Linked DNA regions of Homo sapiens: region 2 is linked to region 1. The links are contacts of gene promoters, found by promoter capture Hi-C in blood cells and fetal thymus (Javierre and others, 2016). All regions are on one chromosome and are shown on one strand. Each heading gives the region's core, a stretch centred on a gene start or on the middle of the fragment in contact. The rest is flanking DNA. Distances are from core to core; before and after follow the strand shown. Region 1 holds the start of ARHGAP10 (Rho GTPase activating protein 10). Region 2 has its middle 3.9 kb from the start of NR3C2.

Region 1 (6,930 bases), core at 2,969-5,468:
AGTTTATACTGAAACGCATCCTTCCAACCCAGTCATCACCAACACTGCCATGACAGCTTCTTACCTCATGTTATCCTTTCAGTAAGTGGCATATCCATCCACCTAACTTACCATGCCACAAGCCTGGGGGCCACCGCTGACCCCTTCTTCCTCATTTCCAATATCCAGGCTATTGTCAAGTCCCAGAATCTCCTTCTAAAATATACTTCATTTCTGTCTATTTCTCGCTGTTTCCTTGGAGGGTCACCTTGGAGGATTGAGCTATTCCATTTCTTGCCCAGACAACTCCAACCACCTTCTGTCTGGATTTCCATTCTCCACACAGCAGCTAGAGAGAAAACACAATCCGGATCATTTTACTACATGCATAAAACTCTTTAAAGGCTCCCAACAGTGTTGGGATACAGTCCCAAATCCTAAATAAGACTTAGAGGCTCTGCACCATCTGACCCTGCCTATCCTCCACCACCTGGCATAGTTGTGAGCCAGTCTCTCTCACTGGGCTTCAGCCACCGACCTGTTCATCTCTTGAGTGTGCCATCTCAGGGGCCTGCACAAGCTGGTCCCATGTCTGTACTACTCTGTTCCTACCCCTATTTAACAGTTAACTCCTACTGATATTCCTGGTCATTGATTAAATTATCATTTTCATATCACTTCCTCAATGAGGCCTTCCTTGACCCAGCCCCAATCTCCATCAGGTGTTCCAATTATAATCTCTCACACACCCTTCACTTTAACTGCATGGTGCTTCAATTTTCAATTGGATATATATGTGTGTGATTTTTCTTTTTCTTTTTTTTTGGGATGAGGCCAGTCTCCCCCAGAGACCAAAAGCACGGTGAGGACTGTTTTGTGTGCTGCTGCATCATGAGCACCTAATACGGTGCCTAATACATATAAATGATCAGTAAATATTTGTGGGAATAATTGATTAATTAAGATGAAACCTGGAAACTCAGTAGCATCTGCTTTTGTGGCCACTTTTCTTGAGTTCTGTCTTACATGGTTTAAAACCATGATTTAAGGGCTCTCCTGCCCCGAAAATCTTTCCCACATTGATGGAATGTAATCTGTCTCCTCCTCTCCCTCATCCCTCTCTTCAGCCCATCCTCCACACTTCCTTCTTCCTTGAGTCTCATTATTATCATAATTTTCAGCAGGCACTTTACAAACACAATTTCATTAAATCTTCTCAAGCAACCTGCAGCTGCAATGTCATCATCTCCATTTCACTGATGGTAAGTCTGAGGTTTACAGAAAATTACCTTTGCTAAGGTTGCACAACTGTTAAGTAGTAAAGCTGGAGCTGGAACTACTAAATATCTATCTTTCCACTGTCCACTGTACAGAGATTTCTCTTCAGTTAGTTATACTTATTCATTCCACATTTACTGATCACTTGTATACCAGACACTGCATAGGCATAGCTGAATAAAACAAAATTAATCAGGCCCCTCCACTCATGGTAATTATTGTGGACCTATTTGGTAATGAATTAAGATTCATATTCACTAGCTCTTTAACACTGGGTGTACATGTGTGTGAAGTGATAAGTAATATTTTTTATGATGTTTTGACATTGTTTTAAACAACTTTTTTTTTTCTCCAAATATCTAAAGAACTGGGCACACTGAATAAACCAGAGTTTTTACGGCTTGAAGTCTAATGTGGTAAAGGAGAAGCAGTTCTAGAGTAGTTCATCTTAAAAAAAATTTTTTATTGAGATATATTTCACAGACCAAAAGAAATCCACCCATTTATCACATACAATTAAGTGATTTTGAGTATATTCAGAATTGTGCAACCATTACCAAAATGTAAATTTAAATTGTTTTCGGCCAGGCTCGGCGGCTCACTCCCATAACTCCAGCAATTTGGGAGACCAAGGTGGGAGCATCATTTGAACTAAGGAGTTTGAGAAAAGCCTGGGCAACATAGTGAGACCCTATCTCTATGAAAAATAAAAATATTAATAATTTTCATCACCCTGAAAATAAACTCCTGACTACATATACCCTCCACTCTATCCCCCAGTCTCTAGCAACCACTAATCTTTCTGCCTCTATAGATTTACCTGTTTTGGACATTTAATATAAGTAGATAGTATTGGCCTTTTGCAGCTAGGTTCTTTTACTTAGTATAACGTTTTCACCGTTATTGTGCCGTAGCACGTGTCAGTACTTCATTCCTTTTTATTGTAGATTAATATTTCATTTTATGGACAAACATTTTGTGCATCCATTACACAGCTGACAAAGGACATTTTGGTTGATTCTACTTTTTGGCTATTACGAATAATGCTGCTATGAATATTTGTGTGTAAATATTTGCGTGGACATATATTTTCATTTCTTTTGGGTATATATCTAAGCGTGGACTTGCTGGGTCACACGGTAACCTCCATGTTCAATATTGAAGAAGTCTCAGCAGCCCCTCTATGAGAAAAGGTTTGGGTTTCTGCTCTGAGGATTGAGTGTGGTCAGTGCTTGGCTGTTTCGCTAGGCCCTCATTTTTGTTTACACCCCCTCTCTTCTTGTCTTTCTTCCCCTTTATTTGCCTCTTTTATTCTCTTTTCTGTAGACTCCAGTCTCCTGCTGGTTTTAGTAGGAACTGAAGCTTTCACCGCCTAAAAGTTATTTGTAAAACACTTTGAACTCTCTGGAGGATGGACATTAGAGTAATAATGTTTATCTGTGGGTTAGGCACTCCTGGTGCTGTTTTGTAACAAAAGGGCTTATTGAGTAGGAGGCTTATTTAACTTGTTCGGGAGGGTTACCCTCCTACAACATGCTGTCCAAACAGATTCTTAATTACCCAGCTGAGAGTCTGAACGTCTTGAGGAATTACTTTGAAGTTTCTCGTTAATATTACCATCATATCATGTAAGTCTATATCGCGAGTTTGTAGATGTATGGAGTTCCTAGTGGGTGCCCGGCACATAATAATTGCTTAATAAATTGCGATTATGAAACGTTACTCTAATGAACTATTAGTGTTTTTTTTTAAGAAATACTTTTTTTTTTTTTTGAGACATTGTCTCGCTCTGTCGCCCAGGCTGGAGTGCAGTGGCACCATCACGACTCACTGCAACCTCCGCCTCCTGGGTTCAAGCGATTCTCCTGCCTCAGCTGGGACTACAGGCACGTGCCACCGCACCCGGGTACTTTTTGTATTTTAAGTAGAGACGGGGTTTCACCATGTTAGCCAGCTGGTCTCCAACTCCTGACCTCAGGTGATCTACCCGCCTCCGTCTCCCAAAGTGTTGGGATTACAGGCGTGAGCCACCACGTCCGGCCTAAGGTATACATTTTAATACTTTAAAATGCCTAACTTTTTTTGGGACACACTGGAGTTGTTTCATAACACACAAAATAGGCTTTTTGAGGGCACTGACATAAATTCTCATTGATCGTCACCCCCACGCGGTGAAAACCACACGTTACCTGGCATGTTTTCCGGTAGTTATTTTTAGAATAATAAAGATCGTCTTCACCTACCCCAGCAAATTTAATGTGCTGAACACAACAGAAACAACTTTTCTGTGGTTTAGCCAGCCCTCTCTCTTCAACTAAGTTATTTAGTGCGGATACGCAGAGAAGTGTAATAGGAGCTGCTGGGCCACCAAGAAAACGCTCTTGCCATTGTAAGGCTTCGATCTCAAGCGGAGATTTACCACGCATCTCACTTTAAACTGGGAAAGGAACCGGGATAAGGAAAAGAGCCCCCTGTGCGAGTTCGTTCCCAGCTCGGGGTTGGGGGCGTCCCAGGATAAATGAGATAAATGAGTTAATCATCTCCTGCAAGGCAGCCACTTCAGAGTTATGTCGCCCGCCTGCGGGGACTAACGACTGCAATTAAGACGCTCCTTCTCGGTCCCGGTCGGGTTCCGTGCAGCGGGGAGCCGACTGTGAGTCACCCCGGCCCCGGGAGCCCAAGCAAAGGGGAGGGGAGAGCGCCCAGGGTGGAGGGGAGCCGCGGGGCGAAATTCTAGCCCCAGGACGCCTCGGAAGGAAGAGGAGGGGCAGCTGCGCGTGGGGAAGAGAAGGAAGAGGCGTCCAGGGAAGGGAAGGGAGGAAGAAGGAAGGCGGAGGAAAGAGAAGGGGACGAGCGGGAGCGCGGGCCCGGCCGGGTGGCGCCTCGGGGAGTGTCTGCCGCGCGGGGGCCGGGCGGGGCGGGGCCGCGGGCGCTCAGAGCTCGGCGGGGGCTGCCGGGATTGGGGCGCCGCAGCTAGCGCTGGTCTCGGTGGCAGCTCCTCCGCGCCGCAGGACTCGGCTCTACGGGACATGTCCGTGCCGCGCTCGCCGCGCGCCCGGGCCTGCTAGCTCCTCTGTGCTCCCTGAACGCGCGGCGCCGCACCTGGCAGCGGCCTCGGAGCTCGGCTCGGGCAGGAGCGCGCGGCCGTGCGCACCGCGCAGCGACCGCTGCCGTCATGGGGCTGCAGCCCCTGGAGTTCAGCGACTGCTACCTCGACAGCCCGTGGTTCCGGGAGAGGATCCGCGCTCACGAAGCGGAACTCGAGAGGACCAACAAGTTCATCAAAGAGCTCATTAAGGACGGGAAGAACCTCATCGCTGCGACGAAAAGTAAGCGGGGACGCGGGCGCGGACGGGCTGCGGCGTGGCGAGGCGGCTGGGGGAGCCTCTCTCGGCAGGAGACGGAGGGTCTTGTGTCCGGGGCCAGCAGCCAGAGGAACGGGGAATTCATTCCGGACCAGCCCAGCTCTCTCGGAACCCCGGGGGGTCCCTGGAATCATTCCTCCTCGAGGCAGCGCGGCGAGTCCCCATTCCCGCCCCTGCGGCTCTGCGGCGGCGGGAACCAGCTGCCAGCGGGCCCCGCCTGGGCCCCGCCTGGCCCCGGCCGAACACCCCTCGCTGAATGCGCGCTCCGCTGGACCGACCCTAGGCACTCCTGGCCCGGAGTCAGGTTTCATTGCTGCCTAAAGCTACTCACAATCTCTTACAAAACCGAGGCATCTGTTTGCCTAGTTTTGTTTTGTGACTTCTCAAAAGAAATTTCTTGGGGATTCTTTGAAACCCTGCGGGAGTGTTGAGTTTTCCAGAGTCCCCTTAAGCTTCACCTTTTCCCTCTCATTGTCTGATCTTCCCCGACAGTCCTGTTCCAGGTCCTTCACGTGCCAAACCAGAAAGTCCACCTGGCTTTATGCTGCTTCCGCACATTCCTCCCCTGCCGTGCTGAGGAGGGTTCAAAGATTGGGGTTTGGAAGGGTGAGCGGACAGCCTGCCCTCTAGCCTAGGCGGGCACTGCTTGCAAATAGGGAATTCCACCCCGGTTAGGCTTGGTGCCTTCCTCCCCTGAACTTCTGTCTCTTAAACTCGGAAGAAGACACGAGATACAGGAGAGATAACTGTATTTTAGTGTAGTTGAGGAGAGTCTTTCTAGGAGAGAAGGGGCCAAAATTCATGCAGAAATACTGAGTTAGTGATGCTACTGGAAAATGGGGCGGAATTAGCCCCAGTGAGGAGCTGGGCAGCCTGACCATCCCTTGGATCCATAACCCCTTCGGAGGATGGCGGTGAATGTCCCCTTTCCCCCTTTAAAAGACCTGTCCATACAGCAGACAGGGACTTGGGCAGTATCCAGCCTTGAGGGGCTGGGTTCTTAGGGCCTTCATCACTCACCTAGATTCTCAGTTCAGTAATTCTCAGCCTTAGGTATTCGTCCCTTGTACATTTGTTTGTAGATACCACCTCTGGGGAAAATCCCCCATCTCACTGTTCTCCCGACCGCGCCCCGCCCCATTTTTCAGTAAGGGCGATTAAAACATATTGATTATACTGTCTCGGGCACCCAGCATGGTGCCTGGTACAGTAAATATGCATTTAATGAATAAGTTGAAGTACATTTCTGTGGGAAGAATTTAGTGAGCCATCCCTGTAATTTTGGAGGCAAGTCACTCAACTTCTCTGGATGATCTCCAAGGTTCCTTTTGGTTCTCTGACCTCTTTGGTGTTGCAAAATCAGGACTGGGACTCACTTAGGGTTTTTTTGTTTTGTTTTTAAGTCTCTGCTGCTTGAATCAGAAATGGGACTCTGGGACATGTGACAAGTGGGCTTATTTGGTTGAGGGCTCTCCAGGCCCTTGGCATCTGGTATGTGTGTTGGGTGGGAAGTAGGGGGGCGCCTATACATATGGAGGAGTGAGCATAGAAAGGAGGAGTTGGGAGCGGGGGTGCAGAGTGAACACGAGAGAATGAGGACTGAGGACTCTTTCTGTAACTTGATGTTAACCAGAGTCAGTGGCCGGGAGAATGTACCTTCTCTCTCATTGGTTGTAGTAGTTCCCTCTGGAGCTAGAGAGGTGTGGAGAGAGGCAGAGGGCAAAGCCAGTTTGGCCACTGGTAGAAAGCTATTTCTGTGACAGCATATTAGCTTTCCTGCCATCAGGACACATGCGTTAGGTTCCAGCAGCAGCCAGTGCATCTGGGGGGCCAGATGTCAGCTTTCCTCCAGACTGTAGACTTTCTTGAATTTGTGAATTAGTATCTTACTCATTTTGATTCTCGTCCTTTAGCATAAGAAACATAACTTGTAATCATGCTTTGAGAGTAATTGGGAAGTGTCTTTTTTTCTCGTTATGTTCATTAAGAATTTATGTTTAAATTCTTTCCCAGAAGGTGACAGGAACACAGCTGTAGCTCACATGCCTTTTCCCGCTTGCTCCATAAAGTTTACTTCTAGTTCCTATCAAAGACTAAGAGCCTTGGACTAAAGTCAGGGGACCTGAATTTAATTCTTCTTCACTGGTTAGGGCGTGGCTATAGGAAAATTGAGCAGGTCTTATTCTTTTGCGTCCAACTTCCCCTGTCTACCTCTTAGGGGAACTAATAAGGTTCTGCAGCATTTGAAAATGGCTTGATGAGGTTATTTGAAACTGCAGTCTAGGTAAATGGTTCATCTAACCAGTTG
Region 2 (6,930 bases), core at 3,248-5,747, 720 kb after region 1:
GACCGACCCCAGGATATCTGGAGAGATGTGAAAAGTGTGCTGACGCGGAAGAAGTCGGTTTTTCCGCGAGCAAAGTGTCGTCCCCTCACGCTCTCCACCTGCAGCTCCAGGTGAGCTGCAGCCCAGACCCTGGCGCCGCCCAACAGCGTCCGCGCGCGGGGAGGACTCTGGGTGGGCTTCACCCGACCCTCGAGGTTCCTCTCCCAGCCCCTTTCCACTGTCTCCAGAGTTACCTCTCAGCAGAGCAGCAGCAGCCTTCGCTGCCAGCGAGCAAGACGATCACGTTCACTCGATTTGAATTTAGTTGTTTTAACCGTGCTGGAAAAACCCTTTAAACACAGCTTTCCTCCCATCCCTTAGACCCCTAACACCAAAAAAAAAAAAAAAAAAAAAAAAAAAAAAAAGAGAGAGAGAGAAAGATAAATGAAAGAAGTGGCAGGGTCAAGAGCTGCTCCTCTACTTCCTTATAATTTTGTCACTGTACTTACTACTTTAGTATTGGATTTTTCCACTAGTTCAATTTGAAAGCAAGCTTACCATCGAGGATATTCACGTTATAATGGGTGGAGGGGGTGGGTCACATAAGTGGGAGAAACAGACAGGAGGGGGGAAGGAACCAAACTGTTTTCTAAGGATCGGTTGTCTGCATGAAGAAATTTCGGTTTCCCTCCAACCGCCCCCTCCTCGATTCTCCTCCCGCCCACCCAAATGCTGCAGTTACTAAGCAAAAGGATGGGGTTCCTAACTTTGATTTCTAAGGACTTTTAGGCTTCTCATGTAAGGCCCCGTTTTAGGCTCCCCGCTGGCCCGGAGTCAGCATCAGTGACGTATACACCTAAATCTGGTCCCCCGGCCCTCGGCGACCCGCAGCCCGGCGGCGGCAGCTGTGCGGCCTCCCGCCTCACCCTCGCTTCGCGCCCGCCAAAGCCCGAGGCGGGGGACCGGGGGACACCCTGTGCCCAAAGGCCCCTCCTCTCCTTAACAGTTAGTTAAGCTCCGGGATTCCGGACCCCTAACCCAGGGCTGAGACTTGAACTCTCAGCCGCTCCAGTCAGGAACTCCCTGGAGATAGGGGCGACAGCGGCAGCGCCGCGAGCTGGTCCTGACCCCAGACTCTAATGCCCCTCGGTCCCCAGCTTGGAGCTGCCCCCGGCGTCCCCGCAGCCAGGAGTCCCCGCCGAGCGTCCCAACTTTCCCGCGGGGCCCACCGTCACGCGCACTCTCCCGGCCCAGCGAACTGGGCATCGATCTCACGTCGGCAGAGCGCGGGCGGCGGGCGGGAGCAAGGGGAGTCCCGGACCTAGAGCCTGGGCACGCGAGGCGGCGGCGGCTCCGCAAGCGTTGCCGAATTATTCATTATTAAAGGAATGGACGTGTCTCTTTTACTAAGTTTTTATCTCCTTTGAGGAGGGCCGGTCTTGCCCTGGATCTCAGCTTCTTGCAAAATCTAGGTTAGAACCGTGCAGGGGCAGCCGCCGCGATCACTCGCCCGCCACCCAGCACCCTTGCCCCAGGGCCGCCAGCGGGCAACTCGTCTCCTGCCCGCATCCCACCTCCGCTCGCCAACCCGCGCCCTCTGCCCTGGGCGCGCAACCTGCCTTGCCCGGGGCCGCCCCTGCGCTCTCCGGACCCCCTCTCGCCGCTGTCAGCGCAAAGTGACTGTCGCTGCACTCACCTTTTCTAGGACATGGTGGGGAGGCTGGGGCGGGGGAAGGGGAACGGCTAGACTCCCGCCGCCGCTGCTGCCGCCGCCACCAGCAAGTCCAATATTGGCTGATCGGCGGTGAGGATGGAGAGGATGATAATCCCGGCAGTGGCAGTCGCCCTGCTGACGGTGGGTAGAGCAATAGTGCTGTTACCCTACAAGAGGCGGCGAGGCAGCGGCGCCAAATCGCGCAGAGGGGGACGCGGGCACCCGCCCGCCCCCAGCGGCGGCGGCCGGGCCTCTGGCGGGCCCCTCTCCCGGGGCTGCGCGTCCGCTCGGCGTTGACAGCGGCGTCCCTGGGAGCCGGGAAGTCCGGCAGGAGGATCCCGCGCCCGCCGCTCCGCAGCGCCACTCTCCGCGCCCCCTCCCCGGGCCCTGGGTGGCCGGTGACAGCTCCGGCGGCCGAGCGCGTGTGTGAGGGGGCGGTCGCAGGGGGAGCCTGCGCCCCCCTCCCCGGGTCACGCCCTCACGAGCGGGAGGAGGCGGCACCGCGTCCGGCCACCCGCGGGTGGGAAACGGGCAGGGGCGCCGGCAGCCGCCCTCCCACTACGGCCACTGACAACCTGGAGGCCAAAGGAAAACTGAGCCCAAATGCACGCACCCCCTTCAGCCCTGCCCGCAGCCCTCCAAAGTCCGGCCCTGACCTCGCGCCCGGCTTCAGGTGCAGTTCCCACCTGCGGGGGGAGGCGAGGGCTGGGGACCTCGCGCGGGGGGCGGGAGGGAAAAGTTTTCTTTTCCTGCTCCTCGGCTGCCCACCCCGCCAGGCTGCTCCTCTCCCCGCCCCTCTCGGGCTCGCCGCGCCTCTGCCCCACCCCCGCCGTGGGGGGGCGCCGAGGAGGGAGCGGGCGTCTGTGCGCGGAGGCGTGCGGGGAGCTGGCTGGGGCGCTGCGGTCGCGACCGGTCCCCTCGCTCTGACGGCGGCTCAGACGCCCGCGGAGGCGGCTCGGCGGGGCAAGCCGAGGAAGGGGCCGAGAGCCGGGACCCCTCCTCCTCCGCTCGCGGCGCGCCGCGCGCCCCCGCGTCTCCTGGCGCGCCCCCGCGCCCTCGTGCCCGCTCGGGCAGACACCTACGCAGACGCGAAAGTGAAAGGGGGGCGACTGGGCCCGGCAGGCGGGCGGCCGGCGGCGCGCGGGCACGCGGCAGGGGACAGAGGATGGATGGGTGAACCCGGATCCCGGGATTCTCCCGCGCCCGCTGCCCCTCTGCGGAGCCTCCCCGGAGTCCCACGCCCCCACCCCGGCCACGGAGATCACCACGTCAGGAGATATGTATGCGTGTGCATGTGTGTGCGCGCGTGTTCACGCGCGTGTGCGAGGTACGCTTCTGCCCCAGACTCTTCCCCCGCACCGTTACACACACCCTTAGATGGAAGATTGGGGGTTTGGGAGGGGGGAGAAGTGTGAGTGTCACTACCAGTTAACCGGCTCCCCTGCTGTGGTCCCTTTTGACTCAGTTAAACCCCACCAACTGACCACACACACACCCCTTTTCTGGCTTAACACTCCTTTTTCTGCAGGCTCTATTGCCCCCTTCCACCCCCGCCCTTCTTTGGGTTCTTTCCCGTTTTATTCCTAAATAGCTGTGAAAGTTGCTAATCCCTTCCCACATAGACCCGTGTTAAACACCGAGGTGCCCTGTTAAAACAATCACTGCCTTTCTCCTTCCACATTCCCACTGTCCTGACAGCGAGCTTCCCATTGCCTCCATCACCTACACAGTTTTGGCACGACTCGGTTCTTAGCTGGCTCAAGGTAACAATTTGGCCTCTAGTAAAACAACCTTTTGGCTTTTCTTATTTGTAGGAAAGGCTTCTAGGTTCATATTTACTGCATTCTTAAGGTATATCTTAAGATGGTGATCAAGAAAATATTTACGTATCAGATATTTTGAAAAATAACATTCAGTGAGTTTTAAAAAGAACCATTTGGAAGTGTACTGATGTCTGCAAACTAATTTGGAAGTGCGTGCATCAAAAATAAAATGCAGCAACATTGGTGGATTGATAAAATGGACAGAAGGATGGATAGATATGTGATAAAACATGTTGATAATGCAATATTAATAGTAGAATATAAGTGCTAAGTATACAGGTGTTCACTGTAAAGTTCCTTCAGCTTTTTTGTGTGTTTGAAATTTTTCATAACACAATGTTGGATAAAAAGAACCCCCCCACTTAAGGTAACCTATATAATGTAAATTGTTTCCAAAACTTACAAATTGGGCATTGATTATTGTTTCCTCCTTTACAAAATGATTTTCTATAACAATTCTTAAGCTAGGTACTCCCACCACTATTTTAATCAATGATTTCAATTAAGGACAATTTGATCAAATTAGGGTGTACAGTGGGGTTATTATAACTGCAACATTTTAGAAATTTATAAGGTTTCTTCCTGTGTTTCTTTTGTCCATTTTATACATACACACACACACACACACATACACACACACACACAAACTGTTCTCAAATTTTCATCTTCCCTGCTTTTAAAACAGTTTGGTATTACAAAGCTAAGATTGAATTTTTAAGCAGATATGGATATTCTTTTGAAACTTTTTCACAAAATAGCTTGTGGGGAGTCCATTTGCCCTTATTTACAGTATCAGCTTATCTTACCCCTTGGGAGAGATGTTAGGGGATCTTGCAATTATTAATAGGCAAAGCTTTATTTGTTTTTTGGTATCTGAGTCTTTAAACATTTGCCCAAATATTTGAATGATTAAGTTTCCCCTGGGTAAACCACTTTTATATTTTCCTCTGCTGAGAGACAAAAGGTGGTCCTGTGACACCCTGAAAAGTGAACAACTTTGGGATAAGATCTGAGTCTCCCTCATCTGAAGAGAAGGTGGCACTGGTTTTGCTTGGAATCACCCCACAAGTGATGCCTCAGAGGGATCTCTTCAAAGAAGATGGGTTTTTAGAAGCTTAGGAATACTCTTCATTCCAATGCCCATTCATAGAGAGCCCGATCAACTCAGAAATATGTGTGCCTAGTAAATGTCAATATTTAGTTGTTTTCTGAGATGTCCCTTAACAAAGTTTGTTGCTTTCGTCTTTTTATGTAAGTGTATTTTTTCCTTGCAAAAGGATAGAAATTTTTTCAAGAAAAATAAAAGGGAGAATTATCGTACGGAAAAGGACGTTAACTTCGTCTCCTATGTAGCTGCCAAATAGCTGAAAGCTTGAAGCAGCATCAGACATCTCCCTTTTGACAATTGCTCTCCCTCTATTCACAGTCGCTGAACCTCAGGACACCTCCCTCCCCCCCATCCCATTAATGTCAAACTCCCTGAGGTTTGCCACTAAAGTGCACGACTCAGCGTTTGCAATTTACATGTGTGACATCACATCCTCTATTATGTAACTTCAGATACAAAGCCTAATATCATCTAAGTTTGTGTTGGAAAAAAATCCTCCCTAGCTCTCTATTTCAGCTTTAGCAGAACCACCCCTTAGTTCTCTGCTCCGAATCCATTCCTTCAACAGCTGACACTGAGGGGTGGGGGGAAAGCCATGGAGTTAAGCTGTAAAATTATAAGCCAAAAAAAAAATTGAACATGTATATGTTGAAATGTATTATGTACTTCTCCATTATCTATTTACTGACAAGAAAGTAAAGACCAATAGGTATCATATAATTTAATCATATTCAATAATTTTTAAAAGTTAAAGGCTAAGCATTTGGTCCTAGTTAACTTCATTAATAAGCCTAGCCATGCTGGCATTTTTTTTTATTTCTTTCTAAAAAGCTGGGATTTTTTTTTTTTTTCAGTCTCTTACCAGCTGTTGGAAAGAGTTGAGAAAGACAGGGAGAGTCAGAAAGAGAAAGGAGGGGGGTGTTGGAGAGAGAAGATGAATAGAGGAATAATATAAGATAAAACTTCTTCTTTGTTTATTGCAAAGCACACATGTTACAGTTTATAAACACTGCAAGTAAATAAGAAATTGTAGACCAGAAGATAAATACAAAACATATCAGGGTTTTTGTTAATATCCAAAATAGCCCAAACTCAATTTTCTAGACTACTTGGAATATTTGTATTAGCTTTGGTTATTCATTAATTTCTGTATTTGTTTACCTTATTATTTATTCATCTGGCTACCTTAATTCCATCTGTAGTCATTTTAAATAGAAAATATGCAAACTTAATACATTTTTATGGCCAGATTTTGAGATGACAGAGCACCAAACAGCACATGCATCACAATTAGTATGCCATATTATTAGAAGCAAATCAGATTTCACCGTGCCTACACTGATGTTCTAAATTTAGAAATAATGTACAGTAGTTGAAAAAGGGGAGGAACTTAGAGCAGTATATTTTAATAAAAATAAAGACATTTTCAATTTCTCCTCTTTTTTTCATATATTCTTGGTTTAGTACAAGAAATTCATCACCTTTAAATAACTGTGCTAATCTTACATAAATAATTGCATGATTTGTGTGCTCATTAAAATTATGCCTTGAAGCTGTTTCTGCAATATTATGTACAGTAACAACCGCAAAAAAAGTGAGACAATCCAATGGGTCAGGTGTGGGAAATGTAAGTCTCTGTTGAACTTGATGAAACACTCATTTAGAATTTCTCATTAGGACTTCACAGGAGCAGTTAGCTTTTCAGTAGTTGGCACTATATTTTTAGCAACATTTTAACAGCTGTCAGTAGCAACTAAGACAACATCTTTGTCAACACTATTTTTTAAACTCTAGCAAAGATGATTGCAAAAAAATGCTTCAGGATTTAATCTTTAGCCATAAAAAAAGTTAGTGTGATATAAAATATTATTAATGCATTGCGGCAGGCAATAAGGTATCCACATAAAACGAGTCCACTTGAATTTTTATATTTTAATTTTCTCAACCCGGGCAACATAGCAAGACCCTGTCTCTAAAAAATAGTTTAAAAAATTAGTTGAGTGTGGTGACATGCACCTATAGTCCCAGCTACTTGGGCAGTTGAGGCAGGAGGATAGATTGAGCCTAGGAGGTTGAGGCTGCAGTAAGCCATAATCGCACCACCGTACTCCAGCCTGGGCAACACAGTAAGACCCTGTCTCAAAAACAAAACAAAACAAAAATTAATTTTCTGATGCCTAAGTATACATAAGAAAGATAATTTAAAAAGATAATTCTTAAAATGTGTGTTCAGTGTCAGAAACAGACACTATAATTCTAGGTTAAGAATAGCCATGTAGATAGCCAAAGTGAATAAAACCTTCTCC

What was found. Contacts are between HindIII fragments. The CHiCAGO score rates a contact against its expected background, and 5 or more counts as called.
Region 2: a contact is called between a fragment that was not itself captured here and the fragment with the promoter of ARHGAP10 in region 1, in 1 of 17 cell types (total CD8 T cells). The highest score is 5.3, in total CD8 T cells.

The regions. Positions count from the first base shown.
Region 1 is chr4:147,727,870-147,734,799 of GRCh38, forward strand. It overlaps ARHGAP10 (Rho GTPase activating protein 10), which reads left to right and starts at 4,219. Exons shown (of 23, transcript NM_024605.4): 1 at 4,219-4,586. The coding sequence starts at 4,433. RefSeq lists enhancers at 3,830-4,722, 4,723-5,615, 4,936-5,005, 6,134-6,263 and silencers at 3,916-4,435, 4,746-4,825. The HindIII fragment of the contact is 2,455 bases long and covers 2,618-5,072 here.
Region 2 is chr4:148,442,851-148,449,780 of GRCh38, forward strand. It overlaps a transcript of NR3C2 not described here. Among named protein-coding and RNA genes, the nearest start is that of NR3C2, 3.9 kb to the left of the region's middle. RefSeq lists an enhancer at 1,698-1,787 and silencers at 1,948-1,997, 2,758-2,897. The HindIII fragment of the contact is 261 bases long and covers 4,368-4,628 here.